Regions from separate parts of the Homo sapiens genome. Here regions 2 and 3 are each linked to region 1. The links are contacts of gene promoters, found by promoter capture Hi-C in human tissues and cell types (Jung and others, 2019). All regions are on one chromosome and are shown on one strand. The core of a region is centred on a gene start or on the middle of the fragment in contact, and the rest is flanking DNA. Distances in the headings are between cores, read along the strand shown.

Region 1 (2,790 bases), core at 117-2,616:
TTGCAAATATTTTCTCCCATTCTGTAGACTGTCTTCACTTTTTTTTTTGAGACAGAGTCTTGTTCTGTCACCCAGGCTGGAGTGCAGTGGTGCGATCTAGGCTCACTGCAACCTCTGCCTCCCAGGTTCAAGCAATTCTCCTGCCTCAGCCTCCGAGTAGCTGGGATTAAAGCATGCGCCACCATGCCTGGCTAATTTTTGTATTTTTAGTAGAGATGGAATTTCACCACATTGGTCAGGCTGGTCTCAAACTCCTGACCTCATGATCCGCCCACCTCAGCCTCCCGAAGTGCTGGGATTACAGGCGTGAGCCACCACGCCTGGCCTGTCTTCATTTTATTAATACTGTCTTTTGATACACAAATGTTCATTCCGATGAAGCCCAATTTATCTAATTTTTCTTTGATTGCTGGTGATTTTGGTGTCATTATCTAAGAATCCATTGCCAAGTTTTACTTGGTTTTGATCTCTAGAAGACTGCCATCATACTGAAGGTAATCTTCTGAAACTTGCGGTTTTCTTTCAAAAATTATGTTTATAAGATGATCCATGTTCTTGCAGAGTTTATTCATTTTATGCTGTATAATATTCCATTATATCCACATACAATGCAGTATTGACCCTTCCTCCTGTTGATGGGCATTTGTCTTGTTTCTAGTTACTTTGCTATTATATCAGTGTCACCATGATTATCCAAAAGTAATTCTTTTGTACACTCTAATTTAAGAACAACTAACCCTTTTTAATGAATAAATCAACCTTGTATTGAGTTGCTACTAAGTTTCAGTTGACTAGTACCTGGGATACACACAGGTGCAGACATTTGACTGAGACATATTGATTTTTCTCATCTGCCTATTTAGGCTAATCACCAGACTATAAAACCATGAGAACCACTGCCATTGAGTATAGTCTGTGTCAGTCTACACTATAGCTTTAACTAGTTGTGTGATTTCTTGCAAAGAGCAATCAGAGAAGACACAATAAACACATTTACTGATTTCAGGCTGGAGAGCTTTTAAGCAATAGGGAGATGGCCACACACAAGGTGGAGAAAATTACTGTGAAAAGGAAGTACTTTCTTTAGAGCCCCACCTAAGCTAGGCTGCAGAAATGTCTACAATGGGTTTGAAAAAACTCAAAATGAGCCTTTCTGCAGTGTGAAAATCCTCCAAGATAAAGAGACAGATTGATGGTTCCTGCCGCCGCCCTGTCCTGCCCAGTTGCTGATTTCAGGAAATACTTTGGCAGGTTTGTGGGTCATAGAGTTGCCAGGTTTCTTGGGATTTGTAATAGAACATCACAAGAAAATCAAGTGTGAAGCAAGAGCTCAACTCTTAACAGGGGTATTGTTTGTGGTTTTGTTACTGGAAAAGATAGTGACCTTACCAGGGCCAAAGTTTGTAGACACAGGAATTACGAAATGGAGAAGGGGGAGAAGTGAGCTAGTGGCAGCATAAAAAGACCAGCAGATGCCCCACAGCACTGCTCTTCCAGAGGCAAGACCAACCAAGATGAGGTGGGTCCACAGCTTTCCCTCCTGCCTTTCCTCTGGTTCTTTATTTCAGTCTTTTTTGCATACATCGGTAGAGATGCAGAAATAGAACAAAGAAACGGGCAAATGGGCTAAATTATAGTGAACCAAAGGGCTTAGTGTGTTAAATCTTCTCCTTTTCTGCATCCATAGAAGACAGTGCTGCTGTCTTTCCCAGGAGATAAGATTTACTCTCAGGAGTGTCTTTTTCCTTCAGGTTACATTTTTGACTTTATAGGGTATGTCATCAGCTCCCGTGGTAGGCTTCCTGGCATCCTGAGTATATTTATTAGCAGATATTTTCCTCTTTAAAAATGTACAATAAGGAAGACTAATAGTAACACATTTGAATGACACAATTAATTGACTAGTACCTGGGATACACACTAATACCTGGGATACATCTAATTAAGGCACTTAGATCTTATAAAAATAAACACTTTTTGAAATGTTGAAATAATAAGACTAGAAACTTTTTTTTTTTTTGAGATGGAGTCTCGCTTTGTCACCAGGCTGCAGTGCAGTGGCATGATCTCGGCTCACTGCAACCTCCACCTCCCAGGTTCAAGTGATTCTCCTGCCTCAGCCTCCCAGGTAGCTGGGACTACAGGCGTGCGCCACTATGCCCACCTAATTTTTGTATTTTTAGTAGAGACGGGCTTTCACCATGTTGGCCAGGATGACCTCGATCTCTTGACCTCGTGATCTGCCTGCCTTGGCCTCCCAAAGTGCTGGGATTACAGGCATGAGCCACCGTGTCTGGCCTAGAAACTATTTTAATAGAAGCAAGTAGTGCCCGAATGGTTGGCATTTGTTAGTGAGATGGTGAACTGGCAGACGGCACCTGTGGGTCAATGCCCATGGCCACCGTCCTGCTTTTGGACACCAGTTCTCTTCCAGGTAACCTTCTGGCATTTTGGGGTTTCAGATACCATTTCCTAAAGGTGAATTATTATAAAATACTAGAAATACCCACGTGTTTAAAATTATATATTTAAGGAACCTTTTATTACGGAAAATATCAAGAAGTAGAGGAATAGCACAGTAAGCCCAAAGTTCCCATCTCTGAGTTATCTACATTTTATTACCACTATCTTTGCGGTGTCTGAGGGAGGTTTCTCTTTCCTGGAGGGCTCCTGTATTATTGCCAATGTACTTTCCTGAATGCAGCCAGAAACTGAGCCCACCCCTCCACCTATGTGCCTTTCTATCCCTCTCTGAAGCTTCTGCAGAATTCCCAGCAGGACAGGGCTTGC
Region 2 (2,790 bases), core at 1-2,500, 54 kb after region 1:
CTCTATGTATCAGCTCTGGATCCTCGGGGCCCTGGACAACACAGGTGAGGCGGCCCCGGGAGCCTCATGGGTGCTGGCGCTTGACTTCCTTCTTTCCTCTACTGTCCCGTCAAATATCCGGGTTTGCTCATCTCTCCTAGGTGGTCTGACCTCTACCGGGCGGCTGATGGTGGAGTTCCCGCTGGACCCTGCCCTGTCCAAGATGCTCATCGTGTCCTGTGACATGGGCTGCAGCTCCGAGATCCTGCTCATCGTTTCCATGCTCTCGGTCCCAGCCATCTTCTACAGGCCCAAGGTGGGGCAGCGGCTGGCTCCCCTCTCCCCGGAGGGCTCGAGGAAGTGTTGGGGAGGGGAATGGCTTCTCTCTGTATTACTGAAATGGAACAGAGGGCAGAATCAGAGTTTCTGAAGAATGATTTTGCTGTTCTCGGTTAAGCAGGTTGGGGTAGGGGAAAGGAAGGGCTGGGCCAGTGGTTCTCAGGGAATGCTTTGGAAATTTGCAAGAGCATTTTTTATCTTCTAGTATGGTTGCTCTTGAGCCCTCATGTTTTAGAGTAGACCTTTTTAAAAATTATTTTAATTTTTCTCAAATTGTCAGGGCAACCTATTGACATGTTTGAAGTTCTATGTGTGGGTAGGTGGTAGTGTTAGAACCTCTGGGATGTGCTCAGTGGGCCTGGACCCCCCTGTACTTAGAGTGAAGGTTCTTTTTCCCTTCCTAGGGTCGAGAGGAGGAGAGTGATCAAATCCGGGAGAAGTTCGCTGTTCCTGAGAGCGATCATTTGACCTACCTGAATGTTTACCTGCAGTGGAAGAACAATAATTACTCCACCATCTGGTGTAACGATCATTTCATCCATGCTAAGGCCATGCGGAAGGTAGAGTGGTGGATGAGCAGGATGTTGGGATGAGGGGAGGGTCGAGAGGAAAGGAGGGCTCCCTCCTGGTGCCTCCGTCTCCTGCCCTAGGTCCGGGAGGTGCGAGCTCAACTCAAGGACATCATGGTGCAGCAGCGGATGAGCCTGGCCTCGTGTGGCACTGACTGGGACATCGTCAGGAAGTGCATCTGTGCTGCCTATTTCCACCAAGCAGCCAAGCTCAAGGTGAACCCAGGAGCCCAGTGAGCCCCTCCCAGCCTGATACCTGTATAAGGGCAAAGTTCTTCCTTTGTCCTGGTGTGGTTCTGCAGATCTGGGCTTCCGCCAAAGGCTGTGTCAAGAGTGTTAAGGGATGGGGTCGCTGCCCAAATGGGTGTTGTTTTCCTGATGTGGCTGCCTGTTGTGTCTCCTCCCTAGGGAATCGGGGAGTACGTGAACATCCGCACAGGGATGCCCTGCCACTTGCACCCCACCAGCTCCCTTTTTGGAATGGGCTACACCCCAGATTACATAGTGTATCACGAGTTGGTCATGACCACCAAGGTGAGTCTTTTCCAAGGCACTTGCATAATGCAGGCCCCCTGTCTGGCCAGGCTTTGAAACCCTTCACTGCGTTCTGGCATGAGCTTTTAGCCTGGGAGCCTTGAGGCCACATGCATTGTTTTGCGGGGCATGTGAGGTTGGTTTTCATTTGGGGACTTGGGGAAGCTCTGCACAGGGTTGACCTCTAGACTGCATTGACCTCAGCTGCATGGGCACGATTGTTCCCCACTTGCTGCTTGGGATGAGCAACCCCTCTTGGTGTCATTAGAAGGATTTTCGGAGGGGTTGGGCCTTTTCTTTTAGATACTGGGGGCATTTTCTCAAGTGTGGAGGAGTTTGGATGGGAGTATCTGGGGTTTTTCCTTTCCTTTTTTCAGCCTTGCAGGGCCAGGGATTGGGCCCTTCCCATGTGGCTCCTAATTGTGGAACCACTCTGGGAGGGACATTGGCCCTCCTGTGACCCTCGCCTCCCTGCCCTTCTGCCCGCAGGAGTATATGCAGTGTGTGACCGCTGTGGACGGGGAGTGGCTGGCGGAGCTGGGCCCCATGTTCTATAGCGTGAAACAGGCGGGCAAGTCACGGCAGGTGAGGATTCTGTGCTCTTCGCAGGGGTGCTGTTTGCCTGTGGGGTCGGTGTTCCCTCCGCTTGGTATTGAAGACTTGCGGTCATCCAACCCACTTACTTCTCTCTGCAAACATAAAGGCTGTGATCCAGCAGGCTGGGTCTGTCTGATTCCCCACCACCCACTCCAGTTGTTTGGTAGGCTGAGCCTTTAAAAACAAAACCAAAAAACTCATTATTGAAAAGTCCAAATATTCATGAAAGTGGGAAAAACAGTACAACAGGCCACCATGAATTCGTTGCCTTGCCTCTATAATTGTCAACGTTTGTTCAATTTCACTATTCCTACCCCACTCCACACACATCCATTTTTTTTTTCTGGAATATTTTAAAGCTTATCTCATACATTATTCATCCATAAATACTTGAGTATGTGTCTCTGACTAAAAGGACTTAAAATTTTAAATATAACCTCTGTGCCGTTATCACTCATAAAAAAATGAATACTTAATGTCACCTAAGTCTCCAGTCCGCATTTGGATTTCTCCATTTATCTCAAAGATAACTTCTTATGATCGATTTGCTTGAATTAGGATCCAGGCATTGCAACTGCTTATGTGTGTTAACTGTTTCATTCTAGAACAGGCTCCACCCCACGCTTTTTTTCATGACATTGATTTATTGGAGCAGCCAGGTCATTTGTCCTGTCGAATAGTCCATATGATGTATTTGCCTCATTGCTTGCTCACAGCGGTGTTTAACCTGTGCCTGTGTTTCGTGCACTTGCTGTAAGCTGGCGATGAGTCC
Region 3 (2,790 bases), core at 112-2,611, 33 kb before region 1:
GGAGTAATCAGGTTGTCCAGGGAGCACCTAAGATACAGGGTACCCTCAGTTATTATATGAGGGAGAGTCCCTTTCCTCAGAGAACTAAAATTATAAGTTAGAAAACAATTACACCTCTACATTTTAGGCATGATAATTGAAAACATTTGGCCGGGCATGGTGGCTCACGCCTGTAATCCTAACACTCTGGAAGGCCAAGGCAAGCGGATCATTTGAGGTCAGGGGTTTGAGACCAGCCTGGCCAACATGGTGAAACCCCTTCTCTACTAAAAATACAAAAATTAGGCCGGTTGCAGTGGCTCACGCCTGTAATCCCAGCACTTTGGGAGGCTGAGGTGGGCAGATCATGAGGTCTGGAGATGGAGACCATCCTGGCCAACATGGTGAAACCCCATCTCTACTAAAAATACAAAAATTAGCTGGGCGTGGTGGCACATGCGTGTAATCCCAGCTACTCAGGAGGCTGAGACAGGAGAATTGCTTGAATTCAGGGGACGGAGGTTGCAGTGAGCCAAGATTGTGCCACCACATTCCAGCCTGGGCAACAGTGAGACTCCATCTCAAAAAAAAAAACAAAAAACATTTTCCAGTATATATATATGTGTATATGTATATGTGTATATATATATATATATATATATATGTGTATATATATATATATTTTTTTTTTTTTTCTTTTTTTTGAGACAGAGTCTTGCTCTGCTCCTTAGGCTGGAGTGCAGTGGCGCGATCACGGTTCATTGGAGCCTCAATCCTACTTCAGCCTCCCGAGCAGCTAGGACTACAGGTGTGCACCACTGCTCCCGGCTGAGTTTTCAATTATAGAGATAGGGTTTCACCATGTTGCCCAGACTGGTCTTGAATTCCTGGGCTCAAGCAATCCTCTGCCCTTGACCACCCAAAGTGCTGGGATTATAGGCGTGAGCCACCGCACCTGGCCTGTTTTTCAGTATTTTATACATGTTCTTTCATTTTGTTTTTTCTTCGCAACTGTACATCCAGTCAACCGAGCCAAGGCCAACAAGCATTCCTTGAGGTGAGAGTTGCGGGCCTGATGTGCCTACTGAGTTCTCTCTGTTCTCAGTTTTATTCAATTTATGAGGCCCATCTTTTGCCCCACAAGTATTTGCAGTAATTTGTCCATTTTCCATGAAAATTTTAAAAATAAAAAGGGCAAAATGCAGCAAAACATCCTCGTAGCTGCCCAGACTTTGCTAGACAAAGCCAGTGAGTGGTTTTGGTCAGCAGGCGGGCCCAGGCCGCAGTTGAGCACCTGTCAGCCGGTGTCGGGCAGGTCAGGTTTGGAGGGAAGGCCTGCGCGGCTGTCCACAGGTGGTTTGGTCAAGGGCAGCCTCAGAAGGTGGCACAGGAAAGGGTGTGCGGGGTGCAGGCCTGACCAGCGATGTTTGCAGATGGACTGCCTCTGGGGGTCAACTTGGGGAAGAACAAGACCTCAGTGGACGCCGCGGAGGACTACGCAGAAGGGGTGCGCGTACTGGGCCCCCTGGCCGACTACCTGGTGGTGAATGTGTCCAGCCCCAACACTGCCGGGCTGCGGAGCCTTCAGGGAAAGGCCGAGCTGCGCCGCCTGCTGACCAAGGTGGGCAGCTGCACCCCTCTCCAGGCCCTGTCCCACCAGCCTGTCCCACCTGCTCCCCTTCATTCTCCAGGGCGAACCTTCAGCATCACCCTCAGAAGCTGTCCTTAGCACCTAGACCAGTAGGACCCCTGGCTATACCTTCCCAGAGTCCCCTCTGATCCCCTCTCATGACACTGATTATATGCGACGGTGACAAATTATCTGTCCCTGCTGCTATAAATCACGGGGTCTGTAAGAGCAGACACCACGTCTCTCTCATTTGTCACTCTGACCCTAGCGCCCAGAGCTCTGAGTGAACTGAAGGACTTCATCACCCAGTACATGTGGTAATATTTCCTGGTTATCTTTTAGGAATAAAAGTCTAAAAAACGTTGGACACCGTGGCTCATGCCTGTAATACCAGCACTATGGGAGGCCAAGGCAGGTGGATCACTTATAACCCAGGAATTTGAGACCAGCCTGGGCAAAAGAGCAAGACCCTGTCTCTACAAAAATTTAAAAATTAGCCAGGCACAGTGGCTCAAGCCTATAGCCCCAGCTACTTGGAGGCCGAGGCAGGCAGATCACTTGAGCTCAGGAGCTGACCAGCCTGGGCAACTTGGCAAAACCCCATCTTACAAGAAATACAGAAATTAGCTGGGCATGGTGGTGCACACCTGTAGTCCCTGATACTCTGGAGGCTGAAGTGGAAGGATCGCCTGAGCCCAGGGAGGTGCAGGCTACAGTGAGCCGTGATCATGCTACTACACTCCAGTGTGGGTGACAGAGTGCGACCTTGTCTCAAAAAAAAAAAAAAAAAAAGAAAAGAAAAGTCTAAAACACCCTTGAGCTATTAGCCAATGTCCACGGGATCCCTTGGCCTAAAAGAATGGAATCGGATCCATCTCGACTGTACTCCTCACGTCTGAGGGCTGGCTTTCCTGAAAAGAAATTGTTTCTGCTTTAGTTTGATCGCTATTGTGGAAACCCACTGACCTGCAGCGTAGGTCACAGCTGCACTGCAGGGCTGTGGTCTGCGGGGTCCCCAGCTCTGGCCGTGTGTCGCCCTAGGTGCTGCAGGAGAGGGATGGCTTGCGGAGAGTGCACAGGCCGGCAGTCCTGGTGAAGATCGCTCCTGACCTCACCAGCCAGGATAAGGAGGACATTGCCAGTGTGGTCAAAGAGGTTTGAGTCGGGGCCTGGGCCCAGGG

The links. The method cuts DNA at HindIII sites, captures the fragments that hold promoters and counts their contacts. A contact is called where the count stands out against the background at its distance.
Region 2: a fragment that was not itself captured here is called in contact with the fragment with the promoter of HP in region 1 in 1 of the 25 tissues and cell types used here (thymus).
Region 3: a contact is called between a fragment that was not itself captured here and the fragment with the promoter of HP in region 1, in 5 of the 25 tissues and cell types used here (bladder, liver, mesenchymal stem cells and 2 more).

Annotation. Positions count from the first base shown.
Region 1 is chr16:72,053,139-72,055,928 of GRCh38, forward strand. It overlaps HP (haptoglobin), which reads left to right and starts at 1,367. Exons shown (of 7, transcript NM_005143.5): 1 at 1,367-1,519. The coding sequence starts at 1,515. The HindIII fragment of the contact is 10,372 bases long and covers 1-2,790 here.
Region 2 is chr16:72,107,505-72,110,294 of GRCh38, forward strand. It overlaps DHX38 (DEAH-box helicase 38), which reads left to right. Exons shown (of 27, transcript NM_014003.4): 20 at 1-44; 21 at 141-295; 22 at 723-878; 23 at 969-1,103; 24 at 1,296-1,421; 25 at 1,911-2,006. Among named protein-coding and RNA genes, the nearest start is that of DHX38, 15 kb to the left of the region's middle. RefSeq lists an enhancer at 11-1,210. The HindIII fragment of the contact is 9,973 bases long and covers 1-2,790 here.
Region 3 is chr16:72,019,712-72,022,501 of GRCh38, forward strand. It overlaps DHODH (dihydroorotate dehydrogenase (quinone)), which reads left to right. Exons shown (of 9, transcript NM_001361.5): 5 at 1,413-1,600; 6 at 2,651-2,764. Among named protein-coding and RNA genes, the nearest start is that of DHODH, 12 kb to the left of the region's middle. The HindIII fragment of the contact is 9,035 bases long and covers 1-2,790 here.